Regions from separate parts of the Homo sapiens genome. Here regions 2 and 3 are each linked to region 1. The links are contacts of gene promoters, found by promoter capture Hi-C in blood cells and fetal thymus (Javierre and others, 2016). All regions are on one chromosome and are shown on one strand. The core of a region is centred on a gene start or on the middle of the fragment in contact, and the rest is flanking DNA. Distances in the headings are between cores, read along the strand shown. Region 1 holds the start of FNDC1 (fibronectin type III domain containing 1). Region 2 overlaps SOD2 (superoxide dismutase 2). Region 3 has its middle 31 kb from the start of IGF2R.

Region 1 (4,026 bases), core at 1,041-3,540:
ACTCATTGGTTATAGAAAATAGAAATCTCATTCCAAGTTAGCAAAAGGGAATGTGCTGTCCCCAGAACCAGCGTTCAGAAAGCGCAGGGGTGAGGTGGAGCCCGGGACTCTTGCATCTGCCCGGCTCTTTTCTACCCACCTGGCCGCTCTCCATGCGTGGCTTCCTTCTCTCCAGCTGGTGTCCCTGGAGGCTGCAGCCAGAGCCACAGGCCCATCCTGGCTACTGCACTGGTGTTCGGTGGCCGCTGTAAGAAGTAATTACAAACGGGGTGGGTGGCTTAAACAACAGAAATCTGCTCTCTCAGTCTTGGAGGCCAGAAGTCTGAAATCAGTTCCACTGGCCTGAAGTCCAGCACAGGCTCTGGAGGAGCCTCTTCCAGCCTCTGGTGAGGGCTGCCAGCATCCCTGGGCTGTGGGTGCATCGTTCCCATGGCTGCCTCCGTCCTCACCTGGATTTCTCTTGTGTGCGTCAATCTCCCTCTCCTCTGTTTTATAAGTTACATACATGACTGCATTAGGGCCCACCCAGATAATCCACGATAATCTCTCTGTCTCAGCATGCTTAATTGCTTTTTAATAAACCATGTAAGGTGACATTCACAGGGTCAGGGACTAGGACAGGAATGTCTTTTTGGGGAGGAAGGCTGTGTTTCAGCCTGCCATGGCTACCATCCTTCCAAATCCACGAATGATGGGAGAAAGAGACCTTTCCACCAGCCCGTGTTAGAAGAGTCCCAACTCTGAGTGACCCTGTCTAGGCCACTGCAGAGCCCTGAGCCAGTGGGGAAGTGGGGCTTTGGGAAGGAGTGGGAGTAAGGAGGGGGCCTGTCACTTGGTTGGAGTTGGGGAGGGAGCTACCATTCCCCCAAAATAGGCAGAGCCGGGTGGCTGCTGGTGAGACAGAAACCACACAGCTCCATTAAATGGCATGTGGGGAAACATGATAACATAAGGGAGTAATGCAGGAAAGTGTGTTTGGGCTGGGCGTGGTGGCTCACGCCTGTAATCCCAGCACTTTGGGAGGCCAAGGTGGGCGGATTGCTTGAGCTCAGGAGTTGGAGACCAGCCTGGGCAACGTGGGGAAACCCTGTCTCTACAAAACATACAAAAATGAGCTGGGCATGGTGGCTGAAACCTGTAGTCCCAGCCACTTAGGAGGCTGAGGCAGGAGAATGGCTTGAGCCTGGGATATGGTGGTTGCAGTGAGCCAAGACTGCACCACTGCACTCCAGCCTGGGCGGCAGAGGCAGAGGGAGACCCTGTCTCAAAACAAAAAGAAAAAGAAAAACAAACAAACAAAAACCTTTGCTGGGAAGCAGGAGAGTTTCCTGGAAAGGAAGGCGGTAGGTTTACACCTTTCCTGGGTGCTCAAATTCAAAGAGATACTGTATTTCTGGTTTTCATCTCTTTGCAATTCATTTACCTTTTTTTTTTCCTCTCTGCAGAACACAAATCCGGTCAAGTTTTGGGTTGTCATGAGGGAGAACTGACATAGCGCTGGGCGGTGAGTTCAGCCAGGTTATCTCTGCGAGGACACCGGTCGGCGGCGGACAGCAGCACGCGGCGTCCAGGACCCGGCCTTCCTAGAGCTTAGGTCACTGTAGCCTCCAGGGGCGCTCCGAGTCCATCTGGAGGGCCGCGAGGCTTCCAGGCTGGAAGGAGGAATAGGGAGAAGGAGGAATAGGGAGACCTGGGGCAGTGTTACAATTACAGAAAAGGGAGAGGCGAGGTCCGCTGAGTCCTTGGCCTGGGCAACAAGGCACACTGAAAACTGGGTTCCTTTTCGACCCGCATCGTGCGCGCCCTAGAAATGACAGCCAGACGGAGCAGGGTCTAAGGACGCTGAAAACCCCTGACGTGGGCGCGCCGGGTGCGGGTAGGGACGTGGAAGGACTGGGCTAGCCACAGGAACTACAGCGCTGCGGACCGGGTGAGGGGTCCCGGCCCGAGTCCCCACTTGGGGCGCAGAGGTGTTTCTGTAAGGGGACAAAGGGCACTCCTCGGCGCGATGGGCGACTTCCCCAGCCAGAAAATGAGAGGGTTAGACGAGGGGAGGAACTTCCTCAGCCACTTGGCCCGGCACAGCGACCGCCCCAAGTTCAGAACCGCTAAGTCAGTCCGGGGCGCTCCGGCCCCTTCGTCCCGCGCCCCGCCCGCCTCCAGCCCGGGCCCCGCCGCCCCCGTCGCCCCTGTCGCCCGGGTCGCCCCCGCCGGCCCTGGCCCCGGCCCCGCACACCGGCAGGGGGCGCCCGAGCGCAGCTAAAAGGCTCGGCGGGAGGTCGGCGGCCTCAGTGGCGGAGCGCGGCTGCCGGTGTGCGGCCGGGAGCGATCGCCGCGGGGCAGGGGCGCGGCGGGCACCGCGCAGAGCGCGCAGAACAGACGGACGGCGGCGGGGACCCGACGGCGGCGCCTCGGCACTCCCCAGACTCCGGCCAGCGCCCCCCTGCCAGCCGCAAGCACCCAGCCCCGGCCCACCCCGGGCTCTCGATGGCCCCCGAGGCCGGGGCGACCCTGCGCGCGCCGCGCCGGCTGTCCTGGGCGGCGCTGCTGCTCTTGGCCGCGCTGCTCCCCGTCGCCTCCTCGGCGGCGGCCTCAGGTACGCGCCGCGCCCGGGCCCCCGGCGCTCCTCAGCTCCCCGCGCACCCTCCTGCGCTCGGGCCCCGTCGTCCCGCTCAGTGCTGGCTACGGGTCGTGTCACTAGCCTGTGCGTCCTCGTCACTCGCGGGTCGGGGCACTTGGCGCCCTGTGTGGGTGGCGGGAGCGGGGACGCCTCGGTGCCCGGGGACCGCAGCGCGCTGGCGTTTAACTTTGCCGTCGCCCGCCTTGGAGTCGGGAGGCTCCAGCCGTCTAAGTGTCCCGGGAGATTCAGGCACAGCGGGGAAAAAAGGAAAAGAAAGGCGACTTTCAGCGTGCGGACTGGGGTAATGCCTTTCTTTGCCCAGAATTTCTCGGGAGCGTAGGTGGTCATCCTACTTTCTCCGCGTTCACCTCTCGCGAGGCAGGATGACGGGCGCACTCGGGAGACCGGAGGGAGGCAGAGCAGGGCTGTTCTAGAAGGTCGTGGGGGAAAGGCTGCGAGCTGCCGCAGGGCGTCGGGTGCCTCTGCGCTCCAGAGGAGAAGCGCTCCAGTGCCAGCTCGGCTCCAGGCGGCAGGAGGCCCGCGCGCCCGGGGGGAACGTTCAAGCTGGGAGAAAATGTTTGTCTTGAGAGGAGGGAGAGGGAAATGAGAAAGCTGATTCCAGAGAAACTCGCCCTTCCCCAATGGCTGAGGCTGCAGCCAGGATGGATGCTTCCTTTGAGAGCAATGCTTTTCAGAAAATGCTAGCGCGCTCCTGTCAGATTTCTTGCAAGCTTCCTGCAGAGAGAGACAAGTTTGTGGCGAGGTTTTCATTCCTAAGCCTTTGGCGGCCCTTGTTACCACCTCCTTTGCAGGCATTTTTACACTTGAAACTGGCTTTTAGGTTATTGGTTTGTAGAAATCCAAGAAGCAGACAATGATCGTCAGATACTATTCCAACGAGGGTACCAGTTTTATGATGCTATTTAGTGTATATATTGTTCTCTTACTTCAGGGGTAAAGGAAGAAAAGTTGGGGATCACATTACTTTGTGACTTTTTGGTAGATACATCATCCCAATGCTTGGCTCAGGTTTATGCGAGGTATTCTGATGCCAATGCCACTTTCTCATAAAAGGCAGTGCCTGCCGTAGGGTCTTTTTCTTCCCATTAGTGAACTCTAGGAAAGTATTCACTGAATACTTTGCACAGTACTTGAGAGGAATAAAACTAAATAAAGTCTTCCAACTTCCCCACCTACAACTCCTGGCTTTTGTTTTTCTAAGTGAAAATTTTCAGAGTGCTGGAAGAGTTTTTGTTTCTGAAAATGATCTGAAACTGGAACCAGTGCTGCCCTGGCTTTGTGGCGATTCCAGCCTTCTGCTTTTCCGATTCCTCTGCCACCTGCCCGTGGGTTGCATGTGAGTGGGTCCGAGCGGGGTTGTTTGTGAGAGCTCCTGGAATCCCACC
Region 2 (3,887 bases), core at 39-2,538, 510 kb after region 1:
TAACAACAGTACTTTAATAGCTATTCTTAAAAATACCAACAAATTAATTCAAGAGCCAATTCCCAGCCTTCCTCATGGTGGTCTTAGGAGCAGCAGGAAGGGTGGGTTACATCTGTGGGAGCAGGCAAAAGCCCACTGAGAACCTCCTCCAAAGGGTCTGGGCACTCACAGGGGTTTACGAGGAACCAGCTCTGCTCCCCAAGGCTAATTTTAATCTTTGGGAATACAGAGCAGTTGGAGGACACAGTGTTTTCAGAAATTAAGTGAGGTAAATGAAGAATTTAGTTCTATCTGTAAAACATCCATTTAAAAAAACTTTTGGTCTGGGCGCAGTGGCTCAGGCCTGTAATCCCAGCACTTTGGGAGGCCGAGGCAGGCAGATCTCTTGAGGTCAGGCGTTCGAGACCAGCCTGGCCAACATGGTGAAACCCCGCCTCTACTAAAAATACAAAAAATTAGCCTGGCGAGGTGGCAGGCGCCTGTAATCCCAGCTACTCAGGAAGCTGACGCAGGAGAATTGCTTGAACCTGGGAGGCGGAAGTTGTAGTGAGCCAAGATTGCGCCACTGCACTCCAGCCTGGGCAACAGAGTGAGACTCCATCACGCACACACAAAAACACTCAAAATAAATTATAGCTCTCTCTACAAAAACAATTCTTAACCAGTATGTCTTGATCAGTTGTGAGGGAGGTCACTAGTAATTTATTATTAATAATTTCAAGTAGCAAAATTTATTAATGATTTTTATAAACAAAAGGCCATGACATTCCCTCATTTTCCTTCTAATGTGCTTTCCACAGGGAGAGGAAGGAGTGTAGCTGGGACTCACTTACAAATATCAGCCTTTCTGGTCATGCAGCTCTACAAATAACCTGACTCTACAGATCGGTGCTTACAAATTTTTTGTGGCTTTTACAAATTGTTATGCCATGTCACTGTCCCAAAAGAGCTGTTCAGATTCTGCCAAAATCTGGGTCTATCCTGTGAAGTGAGCCACAGATCAAGAGTATTCCAATGTCAGGGGTAGAAGAAGGGGCAGAGAATGACTGTTGTTGATGTGAAGGTATCACTTTAAGTTCAAAGTCCCAACCCTCTGCCAGACAACTCATGGCTCTATTTCCCATACTCTTCAGTGACATTTTTTAAATCCAATTAGGCTCAACAGCAAAGTATTTGGTGAGCCCAGCCTGGCACTTCCAAGCCGAATATTTTCATATACTCTACCAAAGAGCCCCAGAAAGGCAGAAGGTCTGGAAACCTGAGATCTAGTCCCAGTTTAACCTCAAATGCTCAGCAGAGGAGGTAACAGTACAAGCTCTGAAATCAGTCTCTGCTTGTATTTCTTTTCCTCACTCTTGTTCTATAGCTAATTTTTTTTTTATTTTAGTACATATAATTATCTAAGCTGATATTAATTCTCTGTAGAATGAAGCAGGGTTAATAAGTAAAACATTTGGCTGGGCATGGTGGCTCATGCCTGTAATCCCAGCACTTCAGGAGGCCGAGGCAGGCAGATACCTGAGGTCAGGAGTTCAAGACCAGCCTGGCCAACATGGTGAAACCCTGTCTGTACTAAAAACACAAAAATTAGCTGGGCATGGTGGTATGTGCCTGTAATCCCAGCTATTTGGGAGGCTGAGGCAGGAGAATCACTTGAACCCAGGAGGCGGAGGTTGCAGTGAACCGAGATCGCACCACTGCACTCCAGCCTGGGCAACAGTGAGATCTGTCTCAAAAAAAATAAATAAAAATAAAACATGTTTGTTAATGTACCTATAAAATTACGTGTACTTAATTTTATGAAATATCAGGACTTCTAAAACATTTTTACTTACACAAGACTCTGGGTGTTATCTGTTAAGATTTGCAAATTATTACATGTTCTTAAAACACTGTTAGTTTTCCTTATTTCTAGTTGAATGCTTTACAGTAGAGCATCTCTCCCAAATGAAATCACAATTTTTAAATCTAACCTGTTGTTCCTTGCAGTGGATCCTGATTTGGACAAGCAGCAATTTGTAAGTGTCCCCGTTCCTTATTGAAACCAAGCCAACCCCAACCTGAGCCTTGGACACCAACAGATGCAGCCGTCAGCTTCTCCTTAAACTTGTCAAAGGAACCAAAGTCACGTTTGATGGCTTCCAGCAACTCCCCTATTAAAAAAAAAATCCAAAACCACCCACAAATGAACAGATTTCAATAATTACAGTAAAATGTTATATTACATGTATTAAAATATTTTTGTCATAGGGCCCAAGAAATTAGACAACATCAGAATGCGACACCTGGATCTAAGTTTCACAATTTTAATTCACGTTTTTGTTTTTTATAACTTCAACTTTTTTTTTTTTTTTTTTTTTTTTTCATTTTTTACCTTTTGAGACGGAGTTTCACTCTTGTTGCCCAGGCTGGAGTGCAATGCCATGATCTCGGGTCACTGCAACCTCTGCCTCCCAGGTTCAAGCAATTCTCCTGCCTTAGCCTCCCGAGCAGCTGCGATTACAGGCACGTGCCATCACGCCCGGCTAATTTTGTGTTTTTAGTAGAGACAGGGTTTCTCCATGTTGGTCAGGCTGGTCTCAAACTCCCAACCTCAGGTGATCCACCCGCCTTGGCCTCCCAAAGTGCTGGGAATACAGGCGTGAGCCACCGTGCCCGGTTCAAATTTTATTTTAAATTCAGAGGGTACACGCACAGGTTTGTTACACGGGTATCATATGATGCTGAGGTCTGGGGTGCAATTGATGCCATCACCCAGGTAGCGAGCTTAGTATACAACAGTTTTCACCCCCCGTCCCCTTCTTTCTCCCTCCCTGCTCTGTCCTCAGTGTCTGTTGCTGCCATTTTTATATCCATAAGTACTCCATGTTTAGCTTCCACTTGCAAGTGAGACATGTGGTATTTGGTTTTCTGTTCCTGGGTTAATTCGCTTAGGATAATGGCCTCCAGCTGCGTAGTTCACATTTTTTAATGAATCGTGTTAGAGGGATTTCCCCACTCACTGTACTATCTTTGTTAGGAAAGAAATACTACTTTCTGTTAGCTTTTTCTTTTCCCTGAATAGAAAATTTTCCTTTGACTTCTACCCTCCTTCTTCTACGCCTCCATTTGGGAATAAAGTCATTGTTCTTCTCCAAGGCAGCCCAGCTCTTCCTGTCTTGATGGGCAGTTTTCTCTACGACTGAACTAAGGGTATACTTTAAGAGCTGTAATCCTTTTATTCTGTAGTAATACAGAATATAATTCTAGATTAGTCACATCAACTAAATCAACTGGGTCAAAATCTCACTTCTCTTATTCTACGGGTTTAAAAGTAATCATCTTTATAAGCACAAATGATGGAATGTGGTACAGATTAAACAAAAATGGCAGCATACCAAAACCACTGGTTGCATATGAATATATCTGATATTCTGGTAACTGACAAAACTTCAAAAGTATTAACCGATAGTCTAGAAGACTGAACTCAGAAAAAAAATAAGTTGGCCAGGCACGGTGGCTCACACCTGTAATCTTAGTACTTTGGGAGGCCGAGACAGGTGGATCACCTGAGGTCAGGAGTTCAAAACCAGCCTGACCAACATGGAGAAACTCCTCTCTACTAAAAATACAAAAAAATTAGCCGGGCATGGTGGCAGGCACCTATAATCCCAGCTACTCGGGAGGCTGAGGCAGAGAATCACTTGAACCCGGGATGGGCAGAGGCTGCAGTGAGCCAAGATCAAGCCACTTCACTGTAGCCTGGGCGAAAGAGCTAAACTCCATCTCCAAAATAATAATAAATAAAAACAAAAATAAAGAAAAAGTTGCCCAGTTTCCCAAGCTTACTCTCCTCATTCATCATTACCTTAAAATGAAATTGCTTATTTCAAGTGCATAAGATAGGC
Region 3 (4,282 bases), core at 104-2,603, 770 kb after region 1:
GCTGCTCTCAGCAATGGCAGTTTGCCTGCAGTTCCTTGCCATATGGGCTTCTTCACCATGGCCACTTACTTCATGTCAGATTTTTCAAGGCCAGTAAGGGAGAGTACAGTATGTCTGCTCCTAAGAGGGAGACTTATATATATGGTAACTTAATCATAAAGGGACATCCCATTATCTCTGCCATATCCTGTTAGTTACAAGTAAGTCCCAGGTCCTGCCCACACTCAAGGGGAGGAGAGTACCCAGAGGCATGATCCCAGAAGGTGGGTGTCTTTGGGGGTCACTTTGGGTCTTTCCACTACATTCTCCATTGAACCTTCTATGTGGAAAGACTGACTTGACATGTCAATGAATATTTAATGCCTTCTCCATTCCATTTGGTAAGTGTCTCCAAGTCTTGGACTGACACTGCCCTTATTGTACATACTGTTCAATGGTTTTATCTTGAGTTCCTTGTGATTTTATTGTAGTAAAAGGCCATTTATGGAATTCCACTCTGTAGCATGCATTGTTGTGTTCAGGCGCCAATGTATTTGCTTTCATTTTAACACTTGGGTTTAGTGGATGGAGTTTCTCCTGGGCAAATCTGTGACCCAGGAAACACAGCAACCTGGTTGGTGCTAGTGTGTGACAGAGCCCTGTGTCTTTGTGTTTACCCGTCTGTGAGATTATCCCATTAGTGGGACACTCCTCAGTAGAAGACCTTTCTCAGCAGGGGGCTGATCCCCAGGTCACAGAATGGATGTTTTCATATCCTCCATTTGTGTTATGCCAGAGCAGCGGTGATAGATGATGAGAGCCGGAAGTCCTCTTCTTTAACTTCCCATGCTTCCATACCTTCCATCAGCACTGAGATTTTTAGATTCTCCTGTGAAAAGACTTTCAAGATCTGCTTTTCTTATCTCTGATTAAACCAGAAAGAAAATGACTTGACCAGGGTTGAGGAGAAGGAGGAACAAAGGGAAGGGTGTTTGAACCAGGAAGGGTTGGGGGAGAAACAAAAACACGTTTGCTCCTGCTGCATGGAGCCATCTATGGCTGTTTCACAGCTTGAAGAAATGCACACCCAACAAATAGGAGTCTGTGGAAGACTGAAGATTTATGGTCATTTTTCAGTTGGGAAGATAATAAAAAAAGAGAGCCGTTACTTTTTATAATGGCTAGGCTGTTTTTCATTAGTTTTAATAAACCTTTCCTTTCCCTAACTTTTCTTCTAAACAGTTACTTGGACCTTTAACAAAAAACAACTTTTTATTTTAGAATAGTTTTAGATTTACAGGCAAATCACACAGATCATACAGAAGGTTCCACGTTCCCTGCTCCCCTAACTTTCTGTCCAGCCCTGCCCATTGCCCAGTGCCAGGCTCATGCAGGTCATCAATACCATGCTCCTAGGGAGACAGAGCTAGAGACAGCCTCTTTTCCTACTTCCTTCTTAGCATGTAACTGTCTCACAATTTCTGAAGATCGAGAGTGATGTTGGAAGAGGGAAATGAGGGACGGGAAGGAGGTACAATAAATTCTTTAATATTCCCAAATGTGATTTTAATGTCTAATTTCAGCCCCCGTGTCTGGAAATCTTTACAGAAACTGCTAGCAAGTGTCCAGAACGAGGGACACCCCGTAGTCCTTGTTCCTACAGGAGAGGGCACTCCTCCTTGCCAGTGGGAGTGGCTACATGAGGCCTTTGGTTTGCTGTCAGCTTGGCTCTGAGGCTGGTTTGGGGAGCCAATGATGGATGAATTTTCTGCAGAGCTTCCCATCATCCACAAAGGCCCAGAAAATTCTCTGTTGCAACTTGTTGGCAGCAGTGCTAAGACCCTTTGAGCAAAAGACAGGTCATGCTCACCTTTAAGAAGAGGTTGTAGGCTTTCCCCCTTGACTTGGAAGGAAAAAGGAATTCCAAATCTCCAGGATAAGATGGACCTCAGAGCCATTTTTAAACTTCTCATGCTCAAATTCCTCTACTGCAGTCAAAACAGCATGCCATTGGCATAAAGATAGACAAATAGATTAATGGAACAGAGTAGAGAGTCCAGAAATATACTCACACATATATGGACAACTGATTTTTGACAAAAGATGCTGGAACAGGTGCAAAAAAAAAAAAAAAAAAAGGAGAAGAAGAAGAAACTTAGCTCCTTGAATCCATAATTTAAAGTGTGTTCAAAAACTAACAAATGTTGGGTGCGGTGGTTCATACCTATAATCCCAGCACTTTGAGAGGTCGAAGCAGGTGGATCACTTGGGCCCAGGAGTTTGAGACCAGCCTAGGCAATAAGGGGAGACCCCATCTCTACTAAAAGAAATACACAAAATTAGCCAGGTGGGGTGACGTGCACCTGTAGTCCCAGCTACTCGAGAGGCTGAGGTGAGAGAATCACCTGAGCTCAGGAAGTTGAGGCTGCAGTGAGCTGAGATCATGTCACTGCACTCCAGCCTGAGCAATGGGAGTGAGACCCTAAAAAAACAAAAACCAAAAGCTAACAAATGAGATTATAGACTTAAATGTAAAATCCAAAACTATAGCATTTCTACAAATTATAGGAGAAAACCTTTGTTACCTTGGGTTAGGCAAAGAAAGATTTCTTACATACGGTGTCAAAAGCACCATCCGTAAAGTAACAAAGTGATGAACTGTACTTTATGAAAATTAAAAACTTGGCCATTGAAAAGGCTCTGTTAAGACAACGAAAAGATAAGCAATAAATGGGCAGAAAATATTCGCCAAGCATGTATGTGAAAAGGACTTTATCTAAAATATATAAAGAACTCTCAGAACTCAACAATGAAGAAACAAACAAGCCCATTTAAAAATGGGTAAAAACTTTGAACAGACGCTTCACAAAGAAGATATATGGGTGGCAAATAAGCACATGAAAAGCTGTTCTACATCATTAGACATTATCAGTAAAACCACAGTGAGATACCACTACATACCCATTAAGATGGCTGAAATTTAAAAGTCTGATGATACCAAGTGTTGGCAAAGATGTAGAAAAACTGGAAGTCTCAGACACTACTGATGGGAATATAAAATGGTACAACCATCTTTGCAAGTAGTAGACCCACCATGTATTCCATGCATTCCATCCATTCCACTCCTAGATACTTACCCCCCAAAAACTGATAAATGTCCAACGATAGGTGAATGGATACACTGGTATACCCATACAGTGGGATATTATTCAGCAATAAAACTGAGTGAACTATTGATACACAGGAGACAAATGTCAAAATTATGCTGAGCAAAAGAATCCACATAAAAAGGAGTACATACTATATGGTTCCATTTATATTAAATTAGAAAATTCCCTCTAATCTATGGAGACAGAAGACAGATCAGTGGTTGCTTTCGGGGGGCAGAAAGGTATACAAAGGAGGGACAAAGGACAGTTTTGTGGGGGATGGATGCGTTCACTATCTTGATGGTGCTGATGGTTTTACGGGTGTATGCATATGTCAAAACTTACCAAGCTGTTCAGTTTAAATGGACAATTTATTGTATATCAATAAGCAAGTCATTGCATGTTAATGATACCCCAATAAAGCTTTTTAAATTAAAAAAAAAAATCCCTTACTGAACCACTGCCAAGAGCTTTTCAGCAAAGCTCCCTTTATCAAAATCAGAGATAAGGCGGTGCCAAAACTGCAAATAAAATGGAGTCATTTGTACTGAATAAGAGGAAGTTTTCCAGTCACATGAGTTTTCTCCAGAGGGATTCAGTCAGTGGGACTGGGCCAGGGTGAACAGCAGGGCTGGCAGGTCAGCAAGTCCAAGAGGCTTCACTCCATCTTCAAGTTGAGTGTTCTCATCGCTAAGATGGCAGCCTTGGATAAGATGACCTTTAATACCCAAGACTTCATGGCAGTGGAAACACTGAGCATTTTCTATTGGTCTGGGTTGGGTTTCGTTCTCCACCAGGCACCGGCACTAGTGCTGGCCTTTGCGGCCCTCAACTCCTTGGCATGTGTGTCCTCAGGGTCAACATTAGCCCCTTGCGCCTGTGGGGAGGATTCATGGAGTGGTGTCAAAGAGTGCCTGGCTTGTTTTCTTCCTTTTCCTTATTCTAGTGGGAATGAAGTTCAGTCCAAGTCAGACATGCCAGAAATTGATTTTTTCTTTACTTTTCTGGTACTGAATTTAATTTCTACTTTGAGCCATCGACCCACTGTTGAGTAGAAATCAATTAATTTGGTTGGTGCCCTTCCTAAGAGTAAGTTCTAAGTTGAGGAAAGTTTATGTGGAGGCCTCTGGGCATGACGCTTGCTGGGGTCTTGT

Evidence for each region. Contacts are between HindIII fragments. The CHiCAGO score rates a contact against its expected background, and 5 or more counts as called.
Region 2: a fragment that was not itself captured here is called in contact with the fragment with the promoter of FNDC1 in region 1 in 3 of 17 cell types (megakaryocytes, M2 macrophages and M0 macrophages); the score reaches 7.0 in megakaryocytes.
Region 3: a fragment that was not itself captured here is called in contact with the fragment with the promoter of FNDC1 in region 1 in 1 of 17 cell types (M1 macrophages); the score reaches 6.3 in M1 macrophages.

Annotation. Positions count from the first base shown.
Region 1 is chr6:159,167,110-159,171,135 of GRCh38, forward strand. It overlaps FNDC1 (fibronectin type III domain containing 1), which reads left to right and starts at 2,291. Exons shown (of 23, transcript NM_032532.3): 1 at 2,291-2,596. The coding sequence starts at 2,488. It overlaps FNDC1-AS1 (FNDC1 antisense RNA 1), which reads right to left and starts at 2,898. Exons shown (of 4, transcript NR_121668.1): 1 at 2,703-2,898; 2 at 1,424-1,652; 3 at 140-245. RefSeq lists a silencer at 2,170-2,339 and an enhancer at 3,146-3,645. The HindIII fragment of the contact is 8,244 bases long and covers 1-3,349 here.
Region 2 is chr6:159,682,881-159,686,767 of GRCh38, forward strand. It overlaps SOD2 (superoxide dismutase 2), which reads right to left. Exons shown (of 5, transcript NM_000636.4): 4 at 1,974-2,153. Among named protein-coding and RNA genes, the nearest start is that of SOD2, 8.4 kb to the right of the region's middle. The HindIII fragment of the contact is 5,065 bases long and covers 1-3,821 here.
Region 3 is chr6:159,935,985-159,940,266 of GRCh38, forward strand. No RefSeq gene overlaps it. Among named protein-coding and RNA genes, the nearest start is that of IGF2R, 31 kb to the right of the region's middle. The HindIII fragment of the contact is 4,391 bases long and covers 1-3,549 here.